3 separate regions of the Homo sapiens genome follow, and regions 1 and 2 are each linked to region 3. The links are contacts of gene promoters, found by promoter capture Hi-C in blood cells and fetal thymus (Javierre and others, 2016). All regions are on one chromosome and are shown on one strand. Each heading gives the region's core, a stretch centred on a gene start or on the middle of the fragment in contact. The rest is flanking DNA. Distances are from core to core; before and after follow the strand shown.

The links. The method cuts DNA at HindIII sites, captures the fragments that hold promoters and counts their contacts. A CHiCAGO score of 5 or more calls a contact.
Region 1: a fragment that was not itself captured here is called in contact with the fragment with the promoter of MAOA in region 3 in 1 of 17 cell types (M2 macrophages); the score reaches 5.3 in M2 macrophages.
Region 2: a contact is called between a fragment that was not itself captured here and the fragment with the promoter of MAOA in region 3, in 1 of 17 cell types (M2 macrophages). The highest score is 6.9, in M2 macrophages.

What each region holds. Positions count from the first base shown.
Region 1 is chrX:43,752,121-43,756,383 of GRCh38, forward strand. No RefSeq gene overlaps it. Among named protein-coding and RNA genes, the nearest start is that of MAOA, 98 kb to the left of the region's middle. The HindIII fragment of the contact is 3,648 bases long and covers 1,187-4,263 here.
Region 2 is chrX:43,562,367-43,566,586 of GRCh38, forward strand. No RefSeq gene overlaps it. Among named protein-coding and RNA genes, the nearest start is that of MAOA, 92 kb to the right of the region's middle. The HindIII fragment of the contact is 2,255 bases long and covers 1,122-3,376 here.
Region 3 is chrX:43,655,032-43,659,445 of GRCh38, forward strand. It overlaps MAOA (monoamine oxidase A), which reads left to right and starts at 1,268. Exons shown (of 15, transcript NM_000240.4): 1 at 1,268-1,383. The coding sequence starts at 1,311. RefSeq lists a silencer at 1-170 and an enhancer at 102-161. The HindIII fragment of the contact is 10,667 bases long and covers 1-4,414 here.

The sequences.
Region 1 (4,263 bases), core at 1,761-4,260, 99 kb after region 3:
ACAACACAAGCTTATTATTTTACAGTTCTGGAAGTCAAAAGTTCAAAATGAGTCTTACAGGGCTAAAATCAAGGTGTTAGCAGGAATGGTTCCTTCTGGAAGCTCCAAGGGAGAACTCATTCCTTGCCTCTTTCTGTTTCCAAAGGCTGCTAGCATTCCTTGGCTTGTGGCTGCATCACTCCAATCTCTTGTTTCCATGGATGCACCATCTCCTCCTCACTTTGAGCCTCCTGCCTCCCTCTTAAGAGAACCTTTGTGAGTACATTGGGCCCATGAGGATTATCTCCCTATTTTATAATCCTTAATCACATCTGCAAAGTCCCTTTGCCATGTAAGGTAACATATTCATTTGCCCCAGAGTTAGGACGTGAACATCTTCAGCCAGGCTATTGTCTAGCCTACCATATGGGCCTCAATATTTTTGAAAACCAAGAGTTAAATGCCACAATTGGTCTGTCCTTAAATCCCTGCTGTTCCAGGCACCTGAATTTGGAGCAGCAAGTAGAACTTTTAATGATTTAAAACCACATGGCTCTGCCCTGCTTCCACCAATGCCTACCCTCTTCCCTATCACACACACACCCCAATATAGCTTCTATCCAGCTTTGTCTTCTACAAAGCCTGAAAAGGCTTGCATCTGGGATCCTGAGAAGCAAATGTATTTGTCTTACATAAGCACGAAACTAGATTCCAAGTTTGTACCTTTAATAAACGACAGAAGAGAAATTTCTATTCTTTAACCCCAATAACTGAATTTCTTTCAGACTCTGCACACAACTGAATACTGGACTTTCACATGAACCTGCTCAGGCATCCCTTTAGATGGCCAAGCCCCAAAGCAAGAGTATCCTACCAGGCACTTGCCAACCATTGACTTCCCAAAAGATCATCAGAAAACATGTCAATCAAGAAAAGCTAAGTTTATCAGACACATTGCATAAGGAAGAACATCGCATTGACAGTCTTACTAGTGTCTCAAAGTGGAAAAATTGGGGGAGGGTTCACAGGGTTTTCAATTTGGGGGTTGTTTTTAAGGCAGATCTTGCAAGGCAAAAAACTGGTTGGAATTGGAAAAGTTTATGATAGAGTAGTTGTGGATTGGTAGGCAAAGTAAAGTGGTGTCTTAAAGCAAGTCTTGATGAGCAAGCTGTTAGTCTTGATAAATAATCTATTTGTGTTACTTCAAAGCTTTGTATTCCAGGAGCAAGTATTTCCTGGGACAAGTAGCCAAGTTATTTTGACTGGTTCAGTATTGTTTAGCTTAGGGACAGGAAAGTCTGTTGGTTTCAGCTTCCTACCTTTAACACACAACTAGGAATACTTATTATTTCTAAAGGCACGTTCTGATTTCTTAGCCCTAAGAACTGTCTTTAGAAACAGATACTTTGTTAAGTCACCCTGTTTTGTAGGAAAGCGTAAATGTTAAAAGCTCAGGTTTCTGGAGCTGGCTAGGCCTGGGTTTGAATCTTGGTATTGAACATGCATTTTCTTATCTGTTAAATGGAGCTAGCTGTTCAGTTGTTCTGAGCATTCAATAGGATCACATAAGTGAAGTTGTTACAGTACTAACAATAAATGATAGCTTTAAAGAAATAAAGGATCTCTTTGTGGTCTACTATGATTCCTACTTCAAAAATACATCTCAAATTACTTTTCTCCACTAGTAACTCCTCTCTGATTAGTCATCTCTTGCTAAAATGCCCTGGTTTCCCTTTTACTACACCACCCGAGCAGCCCAAGTAGATCTTTTAAAACTGCAAATCTGATCCTGTCAGTCCAGACTCAAGCCCTTTCAATAGCTGCTCAATGAACTTTGGATATGACGCACTGTGGCTCCCAAGGCCTTGCATGCTCTTTTTTCTGCCTGTTTCCCTACCCTCGTCTCTGGTCACTCCACTCTCCCTCAGAACCTTCCAGCCATCTCGTTCTCATAAATCCTCAGATATATCCAGTTCTTTTCTGTCTTGGTTCCCTCTCCATGGAAGGTTATTTTCTCCATTCTTCAGTTGGCTAAATCCTTTAGGTTATTTCCCAAGGGATGAAATAGCACTTCCTCAGAGATGCATTTCCTGAGAAACCCCCCGGACAATTAATTCTCCATTATAATCTCTTATCACTGCTTTAAAAAAATTATTTTCCATAAGTGATTCGGGTACAGGTGGTATTTGGTTACATGAGTAAGTTCTTTAGTGGAGACTTGTGAGATCCTGATGCACCCATCACTCGAGCAGTATACACTGCACACTATTTGTTGTCTTTTATCCCTCGCCTCCCTCCCGCTCTTCCCCGCCAAGTCCCCAAAGTCCATTGTATCATTCTTATGCCTTTGTGTCCTCATAGCTTAGCTCTCACATATCAGGGAGAACATATGATGTTTGGTTTTCCATTCCTGAGTTACTTCACAAAAGAAGATATACAAATGGCCAACAAACATATGAAAGAATGCTCTTATCACTGCTTTTGTTTTCCCTCCATAAAGATTCACAATTACATATTTTTTGAAATGCTTGTTTAATGTCTCCCCAAATGACAGACCCCACCACGAATGGGTTGTATCTATGTAGAGATCTGGAGGCCATCAGTTCTCCAGTCAGAGGAATAGGAACTTGGGTGGCCACAGCCCCTAAGCTACTAGCTTCCATGCATTCAGTAACTGTATCCATTTACCCAGTGTGCCAAAACAAATGCAATCATTTTTTTTCTGTGTAATGTGATGTGAAAAAGGTTGGCAAGCACTGCCTTATGCCACTATTTTTGGTATAGATAGAGAGATAAGCAAGTAGCCATCAAGGATCCAGGTTTTACTACGAAACATCACTTGCATGAGAAAAAGTAAAACCCACTGTCATTTCCCAGGACCACAATTTCATATGGTGCCCAGTATCATAATGGTAATGACATACCTTCAAACATATCCAACTACAAATTCAAGTTTTCTGCTCTTTAATTATTTCACTTCCATTGTAACATGCCCTCAAAAGAATGAATTTAAATGAGCCAATTAGTAACCGAAGGTCAGTCTGGAAGAAATAATTGACAGAACCAGTCCTCAGATCTCACCAGGGCTCTTGGATTTAAACTGGAATCCAAGAGAGAAGCATTTATTCATTATTTATTTCATCCGATCATTTATGACAAGCCTGGCCTCTCAGGGAAGCTGGATATCTGGCTGAAATGCAAAATTAACAAATTAAAATTAACAAGCACAGAAAACAAAAACAAAAAAAATCCAGTCTCTCTCCAGCTTACTCCAAGGGCTAGGACTGACACCGGGTGTACCCAGGAAGGGTGCTCTTGGCTTCTCAGAGTTGGGCTAACCTTCTCCCCACCCCCACACATGAATCCATGGTAAAAATTTCCAGTTAGGTAAAGACAGAAGACAGTATTGGGATAATGTAAGCGTCGTTTGGCATCAGGTGGGTGCTTTTGAGCACTCAGCAGATCACATCCTTCACGGATCGGCATTGAGGGAAATGAGGGTTCTGCACAGCAGTCCCTCTGAGACAGGGAGAAGGGGCCCATGTATGGCACAATGCCCTCTCCTGGGACAGGGACAGACTCAGTATGGTGGGGTGGCCAGGGTGAGCAAAGGGAAACGACAGCCTTAGTGGTCAGGAAACAGTTAGCGGAGAAGATGGGCTTGCCGCACAAGGACTTAGCCATCCTCAGTCTGGGTTTCAGGCAAACAGGTCCAGGGTGTCTTTGTGGGGATGGGTTGGCAGAGGATAATAGCAGGAAATCTAGGAAACACACACTTTTAGGCTCAGACAGGAGAGCCCTACACATAAGGAGCAGAGGATAAGGAATTGCTAATGGCTACTGGGCATGGAGCCTTGGTCCTGTACCCTGAGGCAGACCCATCTCTGTGAGAGGATGGGATCTGAGATCTAGTCCGAGGCCTGTGGTCTGCACTGGGCACCTTAACTACCCTGTTTTCATCACAGATCCCTTTGGGGCAGGGATATGGCTGGCACCCAGGTGCTGCTGATGTCTTGCTCCCTGGTTGAATATGACTTTTTGCACGCCTGCTGAATACTGGGCCCTTGAATCCACCTGGATTAGCCTCTGCAGAACCTTGATTGAATAATCTGCCAGCAACACTGGGACCCTGCTGCTCTTCCCTGCCCGCCTATCTGGGTCACCCTACTAAGCTGTGCATATGGCGTTTTTGGCACTGCCAGCCTGGATGGGTTGGGGTGGAGAAAGAGCCTCACTGGACCCGGGTGACTCTCCTCTCCTTGGCTTCTCAAAGAAGGAAATCCT
Region 2 (4,220 bases), core at 999-3,498, 92 kb before region 3:
GAATCCATAGGTCTGACAAGGTTGGTTTACTCAATTCCTATTATTCATTGGTGAGGAAAGCATCATCAGTTAGGTCCAGTCAGTGTTTGGCTTACCAGGGGCACTCAAACAGTGTGGTTTTAGTTTTTTGAAAACAAAAATACTTCATCTGTTTACAGACAGTTGCAATGACGCACAACATTTAGTTTTGGTATTTCTTAGGCAAGTGTTGCTGTACTTAAAACATCTTCCTTTGGTAATGAGGGCACTGGGGAGGAGGACATGGGGGAAGGGAAGGTGATGAAAGCATTGAAGATCCTCTCAGGTTACTGCCTTACATGATGAATTGGATAAGAATACCATTGACTGTGGTCCTGAATACCAAAAAAAAAAAAAAAAGGGGGGGGGGTTATGGGTAGGCAGGTGATGAGAAAAAAAATCAGACATCTTGGCCATAGTGAATTTGAAATACCAGTGGGATAGACAAGTCTGCAATACAGAGGCTCTAAAGAAAGGCTTGAGATACAGCTCTGGCAGCCAGCATTGCTCAAGAGGAGCATGAAGAAAGGCAGTGAGCGAAGAAAGGCAGTGGGCAAAGAAAGATTGTGATGGTTAATTTTACATGTCAACTTGGCTGGGCAAACAATGCCGGGATATTCAGTCAGACATTATTCTGGATGTTTCTCTGAAGGTGTTTTTGGATGAGATTAACATTTAAATTGGTGGACTTTCCCTCCATAATGTGAGTGTGCCTCATCCAATCAGCTGAAGGCCTGAATTGAAGAAAAGACCAACTCCCCCCAAGCAAAGAGGAATCTGGCCAGCCGATGGTCTTCTGACTTGAACTGCAACATCAGCTCTTCCCTGGGTTTCCAGTCTGAAGGAATTCAGACCTGAACTGTAGATTTTGGACTTGCCAGCCTCCATAATCACATGAGTCTATTCCTTAAGTGGCTCTACATACACACACATCCTACTGGTTCTGTTTCTCTGAAGAACCCTGACTAACACAGACATCTATCCCTCAGCCTTTTGCTATTTACATTAAAGTAGGAAAGTAACTATTTTCGGGTGGAATGAAAACATCTTTCCTTTCCTGAAAGGAATAGAGATCCTTGACAGCAGGAAATACATATTAGTCAAGCTTATACCACCCATCCCTAACCCTGCCCCTCATCCAGGATATGGAGAACCAGTTTTCTGTTGCTCATAATTTTAACTCTAGTGATACTGACACTAGATAATGACTCTGGTGATAGGACTATTAAGTCTCCTCCTGACTGGCCATCAGACTTCTTCTGAGGGAAAAAAAGAGACCCTATCTCTAAAGGGATTGATGAAAGAAAATAGGGCCAGCTTCTCCATATCTTGTTCCTGCAAAGGTAAGGCATAGTTTTGGGCACTGTCCTCTTGAGGAGAAGTTTTAGCATCTCCAGACTCATTCTGTTTCATAAGGCTAACAAGAAACCCTGAGTGGGCATCTGCTTGAGAATCACTGACCTAGGGTACTTCTTTTCAAACTCTAACATGCATATGAATCACTTGGGGACCCTGTTACAAAGCAGATTCTGATTCAGCAAGTCCTGAGTAGGGCCTGAGCATCTACATTTCTAGGAACCTCCTGAGTTATGCCTATTCTGTCAATTCATGGTCCCCAGTTTAGTAGCAAAGTCCTAAAGAGCAGGAAGTTACAAATGCCCAACTGACTTCTTTACAAAAATCAGGATAGCTTTTTGAAGAATTAGGCAACAGGCTTCACGTGGCCCAGTGGAGAGCTCTGAGTAATAACTGTTCTCTTGATAGTTGTCTTCTGTGCGCACATTTATTTTGGGGGACCTTACAGATAAGAGTAACTTGTTAAGGACTAGTCTCTTGTCCATCAGAAGTGAGAAGGGGAGATAAGGTATGTCAGCAATTCCTCATGTGTCTTGTCTTCGTGAAGTTTTTTCTCTTTTTTATTTTTCCAAGACTGAGTCTTGCTCTGTCACCCAGGCTGGAGTGCAGTGGCGCAATCTCGGCTCACTGCAACCTTTGCCTCCCAGGTTCAAGCAATTCTCCTGCCTCAGCCTCCTGAGTAGCTGGGATTACAGGCACCCACGACCATGCCTGGCTAATTTTTGTATTTTTAGTAGAGATGGGGTTTCACCACGTTGGCCAGGCTGGTCTCGAACACCTGACCTCGTGATCCGCCAGCCTCAGCCTCCCAAAGTGCTGGGATTACAGGCGTGAGCCACCGCGCCAAGCCCTGAAGTAATTTTTATAGGTTTAAAACTATATACACAGAGGCCTGGCTATTATGTGCTTGGCCTCACCCTCTTTGACCAGCACTAGATATTGCTCTCAATCAGGGTCTCTGCCGGTTTAAACAAACTGATTGTGAAAAGTTACAGTTAGCAAGTAGCATTTGTAATGAATTCCCCTCCTCCTGGTTCAACATCTAAATGTAAACATACCTCTATTATTTTCCATCAGTACTGTCACTGACAGGAATAGAACCCCACAACCATTATCCCATTACATTTATTTTTCTTGCTAATGAGTTTGCACTAGCAGCAACGGTCTACCCAGGATCCAACTTATGTCCCTGGTTCCACTAATACCAGATCCAACTTCCATTATGTGTGAAGTCACCTTTCCAAGCTACAGGCTTGCTTACTGCCTGTGGGATGTTGGGAACTTAGGAGACTGGATGTTTTGAACCTACCTCCAGTGAAATGTTCTATTGGGATGGATATGATTTGACGCACTGTGGAACGTGCTCCAGGAGAGGGATCCACTTACCTGAAACTCCACATTTTTATGAAGAAGTAGAGAGGAGAGAGGGAATATCCAACCAGTCTTGTAAACATCAATTAAAATTCCTTGAGCTCACAGAGTCAGAAAAATATCTTTCTGATAGGAGGAACATGCCATTCTCAAACATCAGGCAGGCAGGGAAGTTTGCACACCCATGCCAGAACCAGCTAGGGAAACAGCATTTCCTAAGCTACCTATGGTACAGGGGAGGGGAGCTACTTACAGTGGATGAGTGGGTGGCTGGGGGGTGGGTGTGCAAAGGGAACTATCTATAGGGGTGGGGCAACCTGGGCTGTCTAATAGACAAATGGGCTTATGTCTGTCTCCTCTAAAAGCTATTTTAAGAGGCCCACAGTGTATACACAACCTCTGTGGGATGGTATAATTAATCCATAAGTAATTAAAGAACATGAGCCTAGGGAAGATAGCTTCTTAAACCAAAACATAGTGGGGCAGGGTGGAAACCAATGAAAAAAGAATTGAAAGAAAATAAAGGACTAAGAAAAACCAACACCTGTCATGTCTTGACTTTAGGAATCAGACATAAGTGAGCGGAGAATCTTAGTTCTGTCCATTCAAAACCAATTCAGCAGGCAATTAAAGCTTTAGAGATAGCATAGACACATCTAGAAAGAGTTGGAATCTAACAGAACATGAACCAACTCAAGAAAACACAGAAACTATCAGAGTCCAGGCTGATACCATAAGAAAAGAAACAAGGTGGCTCTAAACTGGAGAGAATGCTGTACCCAGCCCTGCCCCAACTTGGGAGAAGGTTGACTAACTGATCTTGTTTTAAAATATAGGAGTAAATATTTGATAGACTTGGAAAACACACAAAAAGTAAGCACTAGAGGTAAGGTAAAATTATCCCAAATCCCGCAACTCAAAGAGAATTTGTGTTAGATTTCTTCTGCTCTTTTCCTTAGGCACATTATTTTCTCTTTTTAAAGACTGGGATTATGATATATAACAGTATCATGCAGTACTATTTGAATTCTAAAACTTTTGTGAAGTATTAAATAATTAAAATTGAACATAGCTGCAAGACTTATAGTGAAAATAAACAGGTTTTTCTTCCATGCTCCACCTTAACATTTCATAAGTTTACTTATTATAGAAGATGAATATTAGCACTCTTATATAATACCAGTTTCTCTCTCTTTTAATGTTATATAGGTTTCTGGTTAAACCAGTATTTAATATTTACCTTTATGATTACTATGAGTCACTACTAAGCCAAGTGGTACATATGATTATGAGTCCTTGTTGATATTCTTCTACCTCATTCCTGGAATTTGCCTGGCTTTTCTTGTTTTTTATCATCAGTTATATATTTGTATAGGTTCAAAGGAAATAATTTGGAAATTCAACATGTCTTACAAGACTTACAATTTTAGTTATCAGTCATTAGTGGAGAAAAACCTTTTTGAACTAAAAAACAC
Region 3 (4,414 bases), core at 18-2,517:
CACCGCCCCCAGCGCCCAGCGTGCTCCAGAAACATGAGCACAAACGCCTCAGCCTCCTTCCCCGGCGGCACCGGCACCGGCACCAGTACCCGCACCAGTACCGGCACCGGCACCAGTACCCGCACCAGTACCGGCACCGGCACCAGTACCCGCACCAGTACCGGCACCGGCACCGAGCGCAAGGCGGAGGGCCCGCCCGAAGCCGGGGGCACAACTGCCCAGGTCCCGAACCCGGACTCCAGCTTGGACGACACCTCCTACAGCCTGTCCGAATGGAGCGTCCGTTCTGAGTGGCGGTCCGTCTCGGATCCGCTAGCCAGTTCCCAGTGGAGCACGTCCTCAACTGCCGAGGCCGCCTCCTGGAGCTCCAGCATACACTCCCCAATCAGCACTACCGGTCTTAGCGAGAGTACTGACTCCGACTCCAAGAGTGGCCTCCGGGGTTTCAGCGCTTACAACCCGAGCAGTCGGATCCCCAAGTCTACCACCAGCTCGAACTCCTCCGATGGGGCCGTCACAGCCTCCAATCAGGACACCGGCATTCCCTGGGTATTAGTAACAGGACCTACCCCGCCCGTAAACTCCCCCGTAGAGTCATTGCAAGGGTCTGCCTTCTCCTCAGGGTTCAGCACCCCACGGGGTTTGGTAAAAGGACCGACCCTGCCCCCGGATTCCAACCTGACCTCAGTGTCCGACTACACTTGGATATTTGTACGGGGACCTCCTATACCCAATGACCTTTCGCAAGTGTCAATACAAGCACCTCCTACACCCAGTAACACCCCCGAGTGTCAGTACAAGGGTCTGCCGCATCCTCAGTGTCCAGCTTCCCCTGGGGTTTGGTACCAGGACCACCTCTACCCAATAACATTTCCCCAGTGTCGCCACAAGCACCTCCTGCACCCCATAACATCCCCCCAGTGTCAAGGCAGGCGTCTACCCCCACCTCAGTGCCTGACACTCCGCGGGGTTCAATACAAGAACCTCCTGCACCCAGTAATCCTTTCCAGCTGCCGACACAAGGACATTCTAAACCTAATAACTCTCGCCGAGTGTCAGTACAAGGGTCCGCCCCGCTCTCAGTGCCCAGCTCCCCCCGGGTATCAGCTGAAACATCAGCTCCGCCCCTGGGCGCTCCCGGAGTATCAGCAAAAGGGTTCGCCCCGCCCACAGTGCCCGGCTCCCCCCGGGTATCAAAAGAAGGATCGGCTCCGCCCCCGGGCTCCCCGGGGGAGTTGATAGAAGGGTCCTTCCCACCCTTTGCCGTCCCCACTCCTGTGCCTACGACCCAGGAGCGTGTCAGCCAAAGCATGGAGAATCAAGAGAAGGCGAGTATCGCGGGCCACATGTTCGACGTAGTCGTGATCGGAGGTGGCATTTCAGGTCAGTGTGGACCGTAGCGGTGGCCTGGGGGACCCTGGCCAGTGAGGGGTAGGGGAACCTACAGTAGCTCTTGTGGTGTTTGGGGGTCTCTCATGCATGCGAGAGTGTAGTGTAGCCATGGCTTGGCCCCATATCCTGCGAGGTAGGAGTGGGGGTTGTGCCAGTTTTGCTGGTGGTGTGACTGGGGGAGGCAGACACAATAATTTTACTACTACTACTATTAAATACTAATATTTAATTAGCTCTTGCTGTGCAGTTGTATTTAGCACTTTACGTGGATTTTCTCAGTCCTCAACAGTCCTGTGAGGTGGGAACTAAATTCATCCCCGTTTTGCAAAACCAAGAAACTGAGGTCTGGGGAGTTTCAATAACTCTCTTGAGGTCGAATCACCTAGCTTGTAAGTGGCTGAACGATTTTCTCCCATTTAAGACCTGCAGTACTAATTCCTGAGGTGGCTGCTTTGCCTCACTGATTTCATATCCTTTGCCCTAAACAGAACATCAGGATACAGATTTCTGTAGTATTGAGGGAGCAGTAGTGTTATTCCAGTCCTGCTCTTCTCTATTTTCCGTAGAAAATTTAGTAGGTGAAGAGGAAGGAGGTAGACTCCTTTAAGAAAAGGTTAAAAAAAAAAAGAGGAGAAGAGGGGGTGAGCTCTTAAACTATTCCTGTGTGTGTGTGTGTGTGTGTGTGTGTGTGTGTGTGTATGAACTGTGTTTATATATATATATGAACTGTGTTTATATATATATATGAACTGTGTTTATATATATATATGAACTGTGTTTATATATATATATGAACTGTGTTTATATATATATATGAACTGTGTTTATATATATATATATGAACTGTGTTTATATATATATATATATGAACTGTGTGTGTGTATATATATATATGAACTTGCAGGAAGGTGTAGGACATTTATTGTCCAAAGAGAATCCCTTTATGAAGCAGGGGCTGAGTGCCCTGTTGTATCCTCCTTCCTCCTTTCACTAAGAGCTCCCACCACCTGAATCTTGTCTTCTGATGAGCCAGTTGGTGGGCCAGGGTGCCCCTGGTCCTGGCTTGGATTTGTGGCTAACCAAGTGAGTGGTGCATGAGGCTTTCCAATATCTTCCTGGAAGCCTCATCATGATTGATATATTGTCGCCTATGTTGCCATCATTGGTAAAATGTTTGAAAATTAGGAATTTTGTTGCCTTTCATCCCTGGCTAGAATACCACACTGACCTATCCTCCCCCTACTAGGTGTTAATAATTTCTGAGTTATCCCTGCAGGATCTGATTCAGAAAGAGAAAGCTGATGGGAGGGAGTAAGTAGAGTGGCCCCACAGTAGCCATTTTTATATATAAATCTTTCGAGGAGACTCTGAACATGCTACAAATTAATGTTGGGTAGAGATAGCTTTATCTGAACCCAACATTGTTTATCCTGAACAGGCCAAGAGAAGAGATTGGCATGAACTGTTGCTTTGCCAGTTCCAGCCAGTACCAGCAAAAACATACATGTATGTTGGAGCATCAGAGGAAAGCAGCTCCTGGTGGAGAGTAAGAAAAAGGAGTATTTCAGCTTGTTTCTCTTTATTTATTTATGTATTTATTTATTCATTCAAAAAACACTTGTTGAGTACCTGCAATGAAGTGGACTGCTGTTTCCCAAAATCTGGTCCCACTAGGCAAGCCTCCTAAAAGCAATATGGTTGTAGATCACTGGAAAATAAATATGATGACAATGTGTTATATACATTGACTAGGGGTTCTGGGTCCTCTCCCATCTCCATACCATCTGTATTCTGCAATTCAGAGTTCTTTCTGGGATTTTATTCTTAGTCTTTTTCTTGTTCAGTCTCCAGAATTCCTTAAGGAGCGCGGTTTTTTTATTTTTCCTCTGCCTGATTACCTGCTCTTCCTCCCTTTCTATACTTTATGCTCCATACTTGGTCATTAGCAGAGGTGAAATTACCATGTAGCTGATAAACTTTATGCTTTATGGCCTTATAACTGTAGGTTGCTTCTGGTTCTCATTCTAAATAAATAACCAGTTTCATACTCAGTCCTGTATTTGCAATTTTGCTTTCTTATTTCTTAGAGAGGATACCCAAGTTATATATAAGTTGTAGGTCCCACAAAACCTGAATCTGTCCATAGTCACTCTTAATTATTAATTTATTTCCATTTGGGGGAAGTAGAGGGCATTTCTTGCACAGTAGTTCACACCTCTATTCCAGAGGCCAGCTTCAGTGACACTGGAAAAAGCACTTGACTTCCTCTAATGCCATCTCCATCAGTCAGATCTGAGTGATTTTAATACTCAAACTGACCAGAAACATTGCTTTCTATCTGTGGTACCTTCCCAGATGGTTCACAGCTAAAATGAAAGTAGTTGCAAGTGTGGCTCGTGTTAGATCCTGGACATAAACTGAGTGTTTCATGAGCGGGTGAGAAGCATCACTTCCCAAGCATTCTTGTGAATTCAGAAACATACCATTTTTGTGTGTGCTTGGCAGTATCCCATGAATTACTTAATAGTCCCTGTGGCAGTTTTATATGCCTTTGGATGTTCTTTATAACTTTTATTAGGACTTGTACACTTTGATAGGTTACCCACACATTCATAATACATCACCAATCCATAGCATCAGCAGTGTTATTTCTATTATATAGCACCCAGAAGAGTACATATTCTAAGTGACATTACTCAAAATTGATCCATATTAGCAACATTTTTTAAATAACTCTCTACACAGAGAATAGCAGCATCTGGATGTATCTCCTTTTTTGTCATTATAAAACATAAAATAGACTATGTCTTACAACCACAAACTCTTTTTATCTGCCTAACCACCAATTAAATAATTATATATAGTATGTTAATAGTTGAGAGGGGAAATAACCCTGCTGATTTGTTGGTCTAGTGGTATCTTTAAAATGCTCTGGTCCTTAACCATCATTCATCATCTATCACCCATTCCTTTTTGAAACTCCTTTCATGTTTTCAGCGATGCTATTGGATCCTGAATTTTT